2 separate regions of the Homo sapiens genome follow, and region 2 is linked to region 1. Evidence: promoter capture Hi-C in human tissues and cell types (Jung and others, 2019). All regions are on one chromosome and are shown on one strand. Each heading gives the region's core, a stretch centred on a gene start or on the middle of the fragment in contact. The rest is flanking DNA. Distances are from core to core; before and after follow the strand shown.

The links. Contacts are between HindIII fragments. The study calls those that stand out against the background at their distance.
Region 2: a fragment that was not itself captured here is called in contact with the fragment with the promoter of ART5 in region 1 in 1 of the 25 tissues and cell types used here (mesendoderm cells).

What each region holds. Positions count from the first base shown.
Region 1 is chr11:3,638,805-3,644,301 of GRCh38, reverse strand. It overlaps ART5 (ADP-ribosyltransferase 5), which reads left to right and starts at 2,310. Exons shown (of 4, transcript NM_053017.5): 1 at 2,310-2,496; 2 at 3,931-4,660; 3 at 5,267-5,299. The coding sequence starts at 2,440. RefSeq lists a silencer at 1,701-1,750 and an enhancer at 1,890-2,603. The HindIII fragment of the contact is 5,679 bases long and covers 1-3,662 here.
Region 2 is chr11:3,683,966-3,689,462 of GRCh38, reverse strand. NUP98 (nucleoporin 98 and 96 precursor) reads left to right here. Exons shown (of 33, transcript NM_016320.5): 29 at 3,269-3,490. Among named protein-coding and RNA genes, the nearest start is that of CHRNA10, 15 kb to the right of the region's middle. The HindIII fragment of the contact is 6,430 bases long and covers 1-5,497 here.

The sequences.
Region 1 (5,497 bases), core at 1,061-3,560:
AGATTCGAACTAAGGAGGCTGTATTCTGAGTCCCAGTTCCAGCTCTGACTTACCAGTGATCTTGCAGGACTTCTTAATGCTATACTTAGGATCCCTGCCCAATGACTAGTTTTTTTTTTTAGATGGAGTCTCGCTCTGTCACCAGGCTGGAGTGCAGTGGCGCAATCTTGGCTCACTGTAACCTCTGCCTCTCGGGTTCAAGCGATTCTCCTGCCTCAGCCTCCTGAATAGCTGGGACTACAGGCGCCTGCCACCACGCCCAGCTAATTTTTGTATTTTTAGTAGAGATGGGGTTTCACCATGTTGGCCAGGATGGTCTCGATCTCTTGACCTCGTGATCCGCCTGCCTCGGCCTCCCAAAGTGCTGGGATTACAGGTGTGAGCCACCGCACCCGGCCCCCAATGACTAGATTTGAATCCATCTCTTGGGGCCTTATTTTGGGTTCCAGGTCCTGGGATGGGAGAAGCAATCCCCCAAAGCCAGAGGGTGGAGAGGGACAAAGCAGTGATTCCAATACATCTGGTCTCGGGTCATCCCAGCAGGCCAAGCTGTCCTCAGGTGGTATCTTTTCAAGCAACTGCAAACACTCAACTTCCTCCAGAGAGTGGGCAGGCAGGATATATAGGCAAATGCTGTTTTTCACCATGATGGGAAACGGTAGGATGATTCCTTATTTTAGAATCTGGGAGGGCTTTGGGATGGCTAGACTCATAGAAGGGGGCAAAAGAACTTGTCCTGGAGCTGTTTTTCTTTCTTTCTTTCTTTTTTCTTTTTTTTTTTTTTTGAGATGGAGTTTCGCCCTTTTGCCCAGGCTGGAGTGCAGTGGCTCCATCTCAGCTCACTGCAATCTCCACCTTCCGGTTTCAGGCGATTCTCCTGCCTCAGCCACCCAAGTAGCTGGGATTACAGGCCCCTGCCACCACGCCCGGCTAATCTTTGTTGGCCAGGCTGGTCCCGAACTCCTGACCTCGTGATCCTCCCACTTCAGCCTCCCAAAGTGCTGGGATTACAGGCGGGAGCCACTGCGCCCTGCCCTGGAGCTGTTTTTCTAACAAGCACTCAGAAGCACCTCCCTCCCCACCCTCCTCCAAGCCTGGACCCACCGTATGTCTTCCCGTTTGGTCTACAGAAAGGATTCTGGGAGATAGCAGGATTCTAGGTGGAGGAAACTTTTTATTTGGCTGACACTCTGAGGGGATGGGGGGACAGGGATGGGGAAAATTAATGAGCCAGACCAGGATGGATTCCTTTGGGTAGCTCTAATCTTTCGTGCCCACCTCAGCCCCAGCAGGCAGCATTTCTCAAATCCTAGCTTTCGGCGACCCTCCGGCCGCTGGGGGAAGGAGGGGTGACAACCCCACCTCCTCCTGGCTCTGGCTGCTAGGAAGCTCTTCCCTGAGTTACCAATTCCTCCGCTGGCCCCTTCTCCCATGACCTCTGACGGGGCATCCAAAACTCAGAGCCAGGTTATTTATAGATAAGCCCAGAGGAGGTGGGGGAAAGGCCAGTGTTTACAAACATGGGTCACCTGAGTCTGAGCGGCCACGAGAGCGGTCTGGGGGAGGGGCGAGACCGGACCCTGTGGATCTGCGACCAAGGGCTCTGTCTCTGGCCCAACCCCACTGAAGGCGAATGGGGAGAGGGCCCAGAGCAGGCAGGGAGTGGGCGCTGCTCAGATGCTGGAGCACGTGGCCCAGGGTGTGGGCCAAATGCAAACTGTATGCAAATCGCAGTGCTCCGGGGGCGACCTCTCGGCCGGCGGGACCCCCGCGGGGCCCCTGGCCTGGTGGGCCGGGGACCAGGGGCCGACCGGGTCAGGGCCCGCCTGAGGGAGAGGCCGAGTCTCACAAGTTTCCTCCCCATCACTCACAGCCAAAGAGGGTCCCGCAGAAAGACCCCGCAGGCCTTGAGAAAGGGAATTGCTCCTCAGTCCCTGCCCTGGCGCGCCCGCTCCCGGCCCCGCGTGCGGCGCTGGGAAAGGGGTGTCGGGTTACCAGCGCGGGGGCTACAGTTAGCCTCGAGAACCTTTGCTTTCAGCCGGACTCCGGACTCCTCCGGGGACAGCGCAGCGCCCGCCAGAGCCCTCGGCGCTCCCTCCCGCTGGCGGCTTCCGCAGCCTTCAAGTGGGTCCTCCGCCCCCGGCCCTCCCCTCTCAGGCGGAGCCAAACTGCGGCCCCGCCTTTACAGTCTCGGAAAGGTCCCCAGACTGGAGGCTCTGAGGAAGGGGTGTGGGGAGTCGGGGGCGGAGACTTGGGGCGGGGGGCGGGCAATAAACTCCCAGGCCCCGCCCACGCCCCGCCGGGGCCCTAATCCTGGACCCGGGATCCCGTGCGCCTGGAGACAGGGTCCAGATCTGCCTCCAGCCCCTCGAAACCAGGACTCCAGCACCTCTGGTCCCGCCCTCACCCGGACCCCTGGCCCTCACGTCTCCTCCAGGGATGGCGCTGGCGGCTTTGATGATCGCCCTCGGCAGCCTCGGCCTCCACACCTGGCAGGTAACTCCAGGAACCATCTCCTAGCCCCAAGGGGGACATTAAGGGACAGACCCTGAGGAAGTGGACCCGGGGCTGACTCCTCACATCCCTCTCCCAGGGACTCTTCCCTAGGATTCCACTCTTAACTCTCTTCCTCTCAGGAACCTCCATCTCTGCAGGGAGCCCCAAGTTCCCATTCTGTCTCCTAGAACCCCCATCTCCATCCCTCTCTGGATGCCTCCAACGTTCTCCTCCCCACCTCTCATCTCCCAGCGCAGGCACAGCCCGGCAAAGCCTCCTTGGGTTACCTGTGTGCTGCAGTCCTGGCAGCCCGTCCCAACCAAGGCTTGGCCTCCCCACCACCCCTACCCCAAATGTGGGTACAGAGCAGGGGAGGACTCAGGCGTCTCAGAGCTCACAGTGATTTGGTGTGGTGGCTGAGCACCTACCTGCAAGGGCTTCCTGCTGGATGAGAGGGAAAGAGAGCCCGAGGAGAATGGGGCTGGGGGTTAGGCAGCTGGACACTGGCTGTGTGTAATATTTGCACATCACCTGCCTGCCAGATCTTACAGCCGGAAAAGTGCTTGATAGTCATCTAGTCCCACCTCCCACCGACTGCAAGAACCTTTCTAATGACAGGATGACCCCTTTTAGGTTGTACAGAAGTAATGCTCTTTATGCTGTCTTCATAATAACTGTGAGGTTGGAAGTATCCTCAAGTCCAGAAAAGTTATGACACTTGCCCAAGGCCTCACAGCTAATAGGTGGTAAAGTCAAGATTTCAGCCTGCGCGCGGTGGCTCACTCCTGTAATCCCAGCACTTTGGGAGGCTGAGGCTGGTGGATCACTTGAGGTCAGGAGTTCGAGACCAGCCTGACCAACATGGTGAAACCCTGTCTCTACTAAAAATACAAAAAATTAGCTGGGCGTGGTATTGCGCACCTGTAATCCTAGCTACTTGGGAGGCTGAGAGAGGAGAATTGCTTGAACCCGGGAGGCAGAGGTTGCAGTGAGCCAAGATCGTGCCATTGTACTCCGGCCTGGGCAACAGAGCGAGACTTCGTCTCAAAGAAACAAACACAAAAACAAATTAGCCAGGCATGGTGGCATGCACAGGTAATCCCAGTTAGTTGGGAGGCTGAGGTGGGAGAATCACTCCAACCTGGGAGGTGGCGCTTGCAGTGAGCCGAGATCTCACCACTGCACTCCAGCCTGGGCAACAGAGCAAGACTCCATCAAAAAAAAAAAAAAAAAAAAAAGATTTCAGTCCATGTCTGACTGACTCCAGTGCCTGTGTTATTTAAGCCTCTTATTGGGCCCTTGCCAAATTGCATATACCTGATATTTAGGGATAGAAATGAGATTCTGTGTTTCTGGATGGGTTTGCCCCCAGGACCCATGTCCAGTGCTCTGAACTTATGCTCTTTTCGGTGTGGCACCTCTTTTGCTCCACAGGCCCAGGCTGTTCCCATCCTGCCCCTGGGCCTGGCTCCAGACACCTTTGACGATACCTATGTGGGTTGTGCAGAGGAGATGGAGGAGAAGGCAGCCCCCCTGCTAAAGGAGGAAATGGCCCACCATGCCCTGCTGCGGGAATCCTGGGAGGCAGCCCAGGAGACCTGGGAGGACAAGCGTCGAGGGCTTACCTTGCCCCCTGGCTTCAAAGCCCAGAATGGAATAGCCATTATGGTCTACACCAACTCATCGAACACCTTGTACTGGGAGTTGAATCAGGCCGTGCGGACGGGCGGAGGCTCCCGGGAGCTCTACATGAGGCACTTTCCCTTCAAGGCCCTGCATTTCTACCTGATCCGGGCCCTGCAGCTGCTGCGAGGCAGTGGGGGCTGCAGCAGGGGACCTGGGGAGGTGGTGTTCCGAGGTGTGGGCAGCCTTCGCTTTGAACCCAAGAGGCTGGGAGACTCTGTCCGCTTGGGCCAGTTTGCCTCCAGCTCCCTGGATAAGGCAGTGGCCCACAGATTTGGTAATGCCACCCTCTTCTCTCTAACAACTTGCTTTGGGGCCCCTATACAGGCCTTCTCTGTCTTTCCCAAGGAGCGCGAGGTGCTGATTCCCCCCCATGAAGTCTTTTTGGTTACCAGATTCTCTCAGGATGGAGCCCAGAGCTTGGTGACTCTCTGGAGCTATAATCAGACCTGTAGCCATTTTAACTGCGCCTATCTGGGTGGTAAGCTGTGCATGGGGGAAGCAGGACTGGCAGTGTGGGTGAAATAAGCCAGGATGTCCTTACACAATAATCCCCGGGGCCTTCGGGAGACCCACTTGGTTAAAGGGGAAATGAGGGCTGGAAGTCAGCTGGAGTTGCTGTCCTCTGTGACTCAGGTTTTTTGGGGTCCTATAAGTGTTTTCTAGATTCGTGAACATTCTTAGATGATTCTATATGTCCTCAAAAGGGTCCATCTGCTACATGGTCTAATAGACCAAAAGAACCTGGTTAAGGAGATTAGCAAGCAGCAGAAAGAGCCAAGGGGACTGCTTCAGGTCTCAGGGGGGCCCTGGGCTCGATGGGGCTGACAGGGCACGTATGTGCCATTCCCAAGTGCTAAGGCAGGGAGAGATGGAAGAGTGACTGGGTCTTGGGTGGGAAGAGGGATGGAAAGGCAATCTGGAAAGAGTTCCTGGAGGACGGAGGAGGAAGGGAAATCAGAAGTTTCCCTTTAGGTGAAGGGAAAGATAGATTGAGAAGGGAAATGGCCCTGCCAGGGCCTGGTGGGCCAGGCAGTTTGGGTGCGAGTCTGTCCACGCGGAGGCCTCACCCTGCTGTCTGTTGCAGGGGAGAAGAGGCGGGGCTGTGTGTCTGCGCCAGGTGAGTTGCCCTTCCATCCTCCTTCAGCTGCTTTGACTCCCCCTCACCCTGCTGACCCCTTCCTCCTCTTTTCCCTTCAGCAGGGGTGCAGCTAGGGTCACAATCTGAGGGGGCCTCCTCTCTGCCCCCCTGGAAGACTCTGCTCTTGGCCCCTGGAGAGTTCCAGCTCTCAGGGGTTGGGCCCTGAAAGTCCAACAT
Region 2 (5,497 bases), core at 1,869-4,368, 44 kb before region 1:
CTCTGCCTTCCAGGTTCACGCCATTCTCCTGCCTCAGCCTCCCAAGTAGCTGGGACTAGAGGCACCCACCACCACGCCCAGCTAATTTTTTTGTATTTTTAGTAGAGACAGGGTTTCACCGTGTTAGCCAAGATGGTCTCGATCTCCTGACCTCGTGATCTGCCCACCTCAGCCTCCCAAAGTGCTGGGATTACAGGCGCGAGCCACTGCACCTAGCCTTGTTTTGTTTTTAGACAGGGTTTTGCTCTGTCACCCGGGCTGGTGTGCAGTGGAATGATCATGGCTCATTGCAGTCTCAACCACCCGGGTTCAGGCGATCCTTTCACCTCAGCCTCCTGAGTAGCTGAGCGCTGCAGGAGTGCACCACCATACTCAGCTAATTCTTGTATTTTTTGTAGACAAGATTTTGCCACATTGCCCAGGCTGTTCTCAAGCTCCTGAGCTCAAGTGATCCACTTGCGCTGGCCTCCTAAAGTACTGGGATTACAGGTGTCAGCCACTGCACGCAGCAGAGAAGTCTTCTTACATTACCTTAGAAATACTTACAGTTTTTGTTTTTTTTTTCTCTAGTCACACAAATAGCTCATCTCATTTCAAATCTTCAAGGTGATTTCTTATAAATATATATATATATATATATATGTATATTTAAATACATATATATATTTTCGAGACAGTCTCTCTCTGTCGCCCAGTCTAGAGTGCAGTGGCGTGATCTTGCCTCACTGCAACCTCTGCCTTCCAGGTTCAAGCGATTCTCCTGCCTCAGCCTCCTGAGTAGCTGGGGTTACAGGCATGCGCCACAAAGCCCAGCTAATTTTTGTATTTTTAGTAGAAATGGGGTTTTGCCACGTTGGCCAGGCTGGTCTCGAACTCCTGACCTCAAGTAATCCTCCTGCCTCGGCCTCCCAAAGTGCTGGGATTATAGGTGTGAGCCACTGTGCCTGGCCAGTATTTAACTATATTAATTATATAGAATGTAGCTTTTTATTGTAGTAAAATGTAACTAAAATTTACTGGTTTTTATTTATTTATTTTATTATTATTATTATTTTTTGAGATGGAGTCTCGCTCTGTCGCCCAGGCTGGAGTGCAGTGGCGCGAACTAGGCTCACTGCAAGCTCTGCCTCCTGGGTTCACACCATTCTCCTGCCTCAGCTTCCCGAGTAGCTGGGACTACAGGCACCCACCACCACGCCCGGCTAATTTTTAGTAGAGACGGGGTTTCACCATGGTTTCACCATGTTAGCCAGGATGGTCTGGATCTCCTGACCTCGTGATCCGCTCACCTCAGCCTCCCAGAGTGCTGGGATTACAGGCGTGAGCCACCGTGCCCGGCCAAATTTACTGTTTTAACCATTTTAAGCATACTGTTCAGTGGCATTAAGTCCATTCACATTGCTATACAATCATCACCACCCTCTCCAGAACTTTTTCATCTTCCCATACTGGAAATTCTCATTGTTTCATTTGCATTTCCCTAATGTCTAATGATGTTGAGCACTTTGTCATGTGCTTATTTACCATCTGTACATCTTTGCTAAAATGTCTATTACAGGCATGAGTCACTGCACCCAGCCTTGTTTTGTTAGCCAAGATAGTCTCGATCTCCTGACCTCGTGATCCACCCGCCTTGGCTTCCCAAAGTGCTGGGATTACAGGCGTGAGCCACCGCACCCGGCCTAAAGTCACAAAATTTATTAGCATCAAGTTATTAATAACATTTCCTTATTAACCATTTTAAATATCTGTAGGATCTTTAACAACGTCTCTTTCTTTTTGATACTGGTCATTTGTGTTCAATAATTGCGTCCTCTTTTTTTCTTGGTTGGTGTACCTAGAGTTTAGCAATCATATTGACCTTTTCAAAGAACCACCTTCTGGCCTCATTAGTTGTGTCTATTGTTTATCCAGCTCATAATGGATTACAAACCTAAATTTCAACTTAACTATAAACCTTCTAGAAGAAAACAAAGCAGAAAATTTTTGCAACTGTAGGTTAGGCAGAAGATTTCTTAGGTGGACACTAAATAACACAATTCATAAGAGAAAAAAATTGGTAAATTGGACTTCAACAAAATTTCAAAACTACTGCTCATAGAAAGACTGTTAAGAGAATGAAAAGGTAAACCATAGATTGGGAGAAAATACTTGCAATTCGTAGATCTGATAGAGAACTTGTATCCAGGAATACATCAAGAACTCTGAAAATTCAGTAATAAGAAAACAGGCCAGGTATGGTGCGTCATGCCTATAATCCCAGCAGTTTGTGACGCTGAAGTGGGACGATCACTTGAACCCAGGAGCTCAAGACCAACCTGGGCAATATAATGAGACCCCATCTCTACAAAAATAAATTTCTTAAATTGGGTGGGCATGGTGGCATGCATCTGTAGTCCCAGCTACTTAGGAGGCTGAAGTGAGAGGATCGCATGAGCCCAGGAGGTTGAGGTTACAATTGAGTCATCATTATTATTATTATTTTGAGTTGGAGTCTCACCCTGTCAGAGTGCAGTGGTATGATCTCACCTCACCACAACCTCCGCCTCCTGGGTTCCAGCAGTTCTTGTGCCACAGCCTCCTGAGTAGCCGGGAATACAGGCATGCACTACCACACCTGGCTAATTTTTGTATTTTTAGTAGAGGCAAGAGTTTCACCATCTTGGCCAGGCTGGTCTCAAACTCTCCTGACCTCAAGTGATCCGCCCACCTCAGCCTTCCAATGTGTTGGGATTACAGGCGTGAGCCACCGCGCCTTGCTCTATTTATTTTCTTGATCGTGATGGTGGTTTTACAGGTGTCTACATATGTTAAAGCTCATTAAAATTGTGTACTCTAGATACGTGCAGTTTTAAATATGTCAGAGAAAGAAAGAAAAGGATACTTCAAAATACCAGAAATGGGCAACAGAGCGAGACTCTGTCTCAAAAAAAAGAAAAAAGTAATGACATTATAATGAAGGAATGGAAGGGTGAGAACTGTGAAGACTCCCTGTATCAGGATGGTAAAATACATACGCCAAACCATTACCAGCAAACCTGTTAGATCACACAACCTTAGAAGAGAAGGTGCCTTGTTTCTTTGTAGGATCTAAAGTCTGGCTGAACCCAGAGATAGATTGATAAAACATAGGCTCAGAGGGAGAGAAGGCCTATAATGCTTTCACTCTCAGGTTCTTTTATTGTCTTAGACATAAGCAGAACAGTTGACATATCAGTCCAGGCCGTCTCCTGGCTGTGTATGTTGACTCTCAACACGTTCTTTGCAGACATTATGATCTCAACCAGCTGCTGGAGCCTCGAAGCATAACAGCAGATCCTTTGGACTACCGCCTAAGCTGGCACTTGTGGGAAGTGCTGAGGGCTCTTAACTACACCCATCTCTCAGCGCAGTGTGAAGGTGTGCTACAGGCCAGTTACGCTGGCCAGCTTGAAAGTGAGGGGCTCTGGGAGTGGGCCATCTTTGTCCTCCTGCACATTGACAACTCAGGGTGAGTGAGAAGCCGTTGAACCCACTGGGTACATCTAGCACTACAGGGCAATTCCAAAGGAATCAGTCTTTCAGGGTTCAGTTTAGCAAGTAATTGTGTAGAATGTGTGTTAGATCCAGCGTTGTGATAAACCTCAAGATAGTTAAACCCTTAGCCTAGACTGTTTCTGTATTCATGTAAACCAGTTAAAACTGAGACTTCCTTTGATTAAGTGCCAAATTATAATATTTATCACAAAGTCTCTCAGCAGTCTGAGAAAAAAAGATCTCTGTGAACTGCATTGATCAGAGAAATTCTTCATAGAGGTAAGAGTCGAAGAACCTGTAAAATTGGAATAGGAAATAATGAAGTGGAAATGAGAGAATATGCCCAGATGGGACAATAGCATTATGCCTGGGCCAAAAAACTAGTCATTTAATTTCAGATCAGAACTATTCTCCTCATAGTGGGCTCTTTTCTGAATCCCAGATTCAGGTGAATGTGGCATGTTTAGGAATTACACAGAAATAGTGCTGTCTGAGCTGCCTCAGTGACTCCACGGCAGGGAAGTAATGGGTTAGCAAAAAGGTCCCTGCTTTTTCTGTGTCCACTGGCTTGCTTTTTCTCTGGTCATCCCTTGTCACCGACCCATTCCTTAAGCTTGATAGTATTGTATTTATTAACACAGCCTTGTGCTTAGGTATATGTGTCTTGATTCTCTGTCCTTAAAGAGAACTGGAGAAATGCCTTTTCACTGCGGTTTGAACAAGATAAGGCCGGAGATTTTTGTTAATGATAGCAGTATGGTATTTCAGTAATTACACAAAATGAACATTTATGTAGTACTTGAAGTGCTTTTACACATGTTTATATTGTATACCATATATATTAACTGTTTTATGTTCATTATGACCTGTGAGATAGACACTGTTATTATCTCTGTTTTACAGGTCAGTAACCCAAGACACAGAGCTTAACTTTTGTCCAAGGTCACACAGCTAGTAAATGGCAGAGTGAGGTTTCCAACTTTCGTCCAGAGTCTGTGCTCTTATCATTATGCTGCACTGTTGTGTTGCATGGTATGGAAGGAAATAGGGTCTAAATTCTAGATCTACCACGTACTCACTTTGACCTAGGGTAAAGCTTACTTTTGACTTTGGATAAAGATACTCTCTTAACTCTCTAAGCCTAAGCCTTTTTTTTTTTTTTTTTTTTTTTTTTTTTTTTGGCCTGTGAAAGCATAACATTAGTTTCTATTTAAAGGTGATTGTGAAATTAAAAAGAGTAAAAGTATAAAGCATCTAGCATAGTCTTATTAAGACTTAAGCAATTTCTCTTTCTTTAAGCAGTTTCTCTTTCTTCTTCCCCTTTAACAGGGAATGAAATGACCCCAGGCTATTTTTTTAAGTTTATTTAAACACAGTCATAAAGGATTTCACATGGTAAAAGACTGGCTTGATAGGATGGCTAATGTTTCGGAGTTGACTATGGAGAAGCAGATCTTGTTTCCTGAAAAAGAATATAAAAAAGGAGGCAGTTGTGATGACAGTGGAAGTCATTGAAAAGCTTAGGAATTCAGAAAAGAGTCCATAATGAGAATAGTTTTGATCTGAAAGTAAATGACTTGACCTCGTGATCTGTCCGCCTCGGCCTGCCAAAGTGCTGGGATTACAGGCGTGAGCCACTGCGCCGAGCCAAGCCCCAACTTTTTGAACATGAAAATACTTTATTTTATTTTTAAAAATTAATGCTATGTGTTTGTTTTGTTTTGTTTTGTTTTTGAGATGGAGTTTCGGTCTTGTCGCCCAGGCTGGAGTGCAATGGCGTGATCTCGGCTCACTGCAATTTCTGCCTCCCGGGTTCAAGCAATTCTCCTGCCTCAGCTTCTTGAGTAGCTGGGATTACAGACGCCTGCCACCACACCCAGCTAATTTTTTTAATTATTTTTTGCAGAGACGGGGTTTCACCATGTTGGCCAGGCTGGTCTTGAACTCCTGACCTCATGTGATCCACCCACCTTGACCTCCC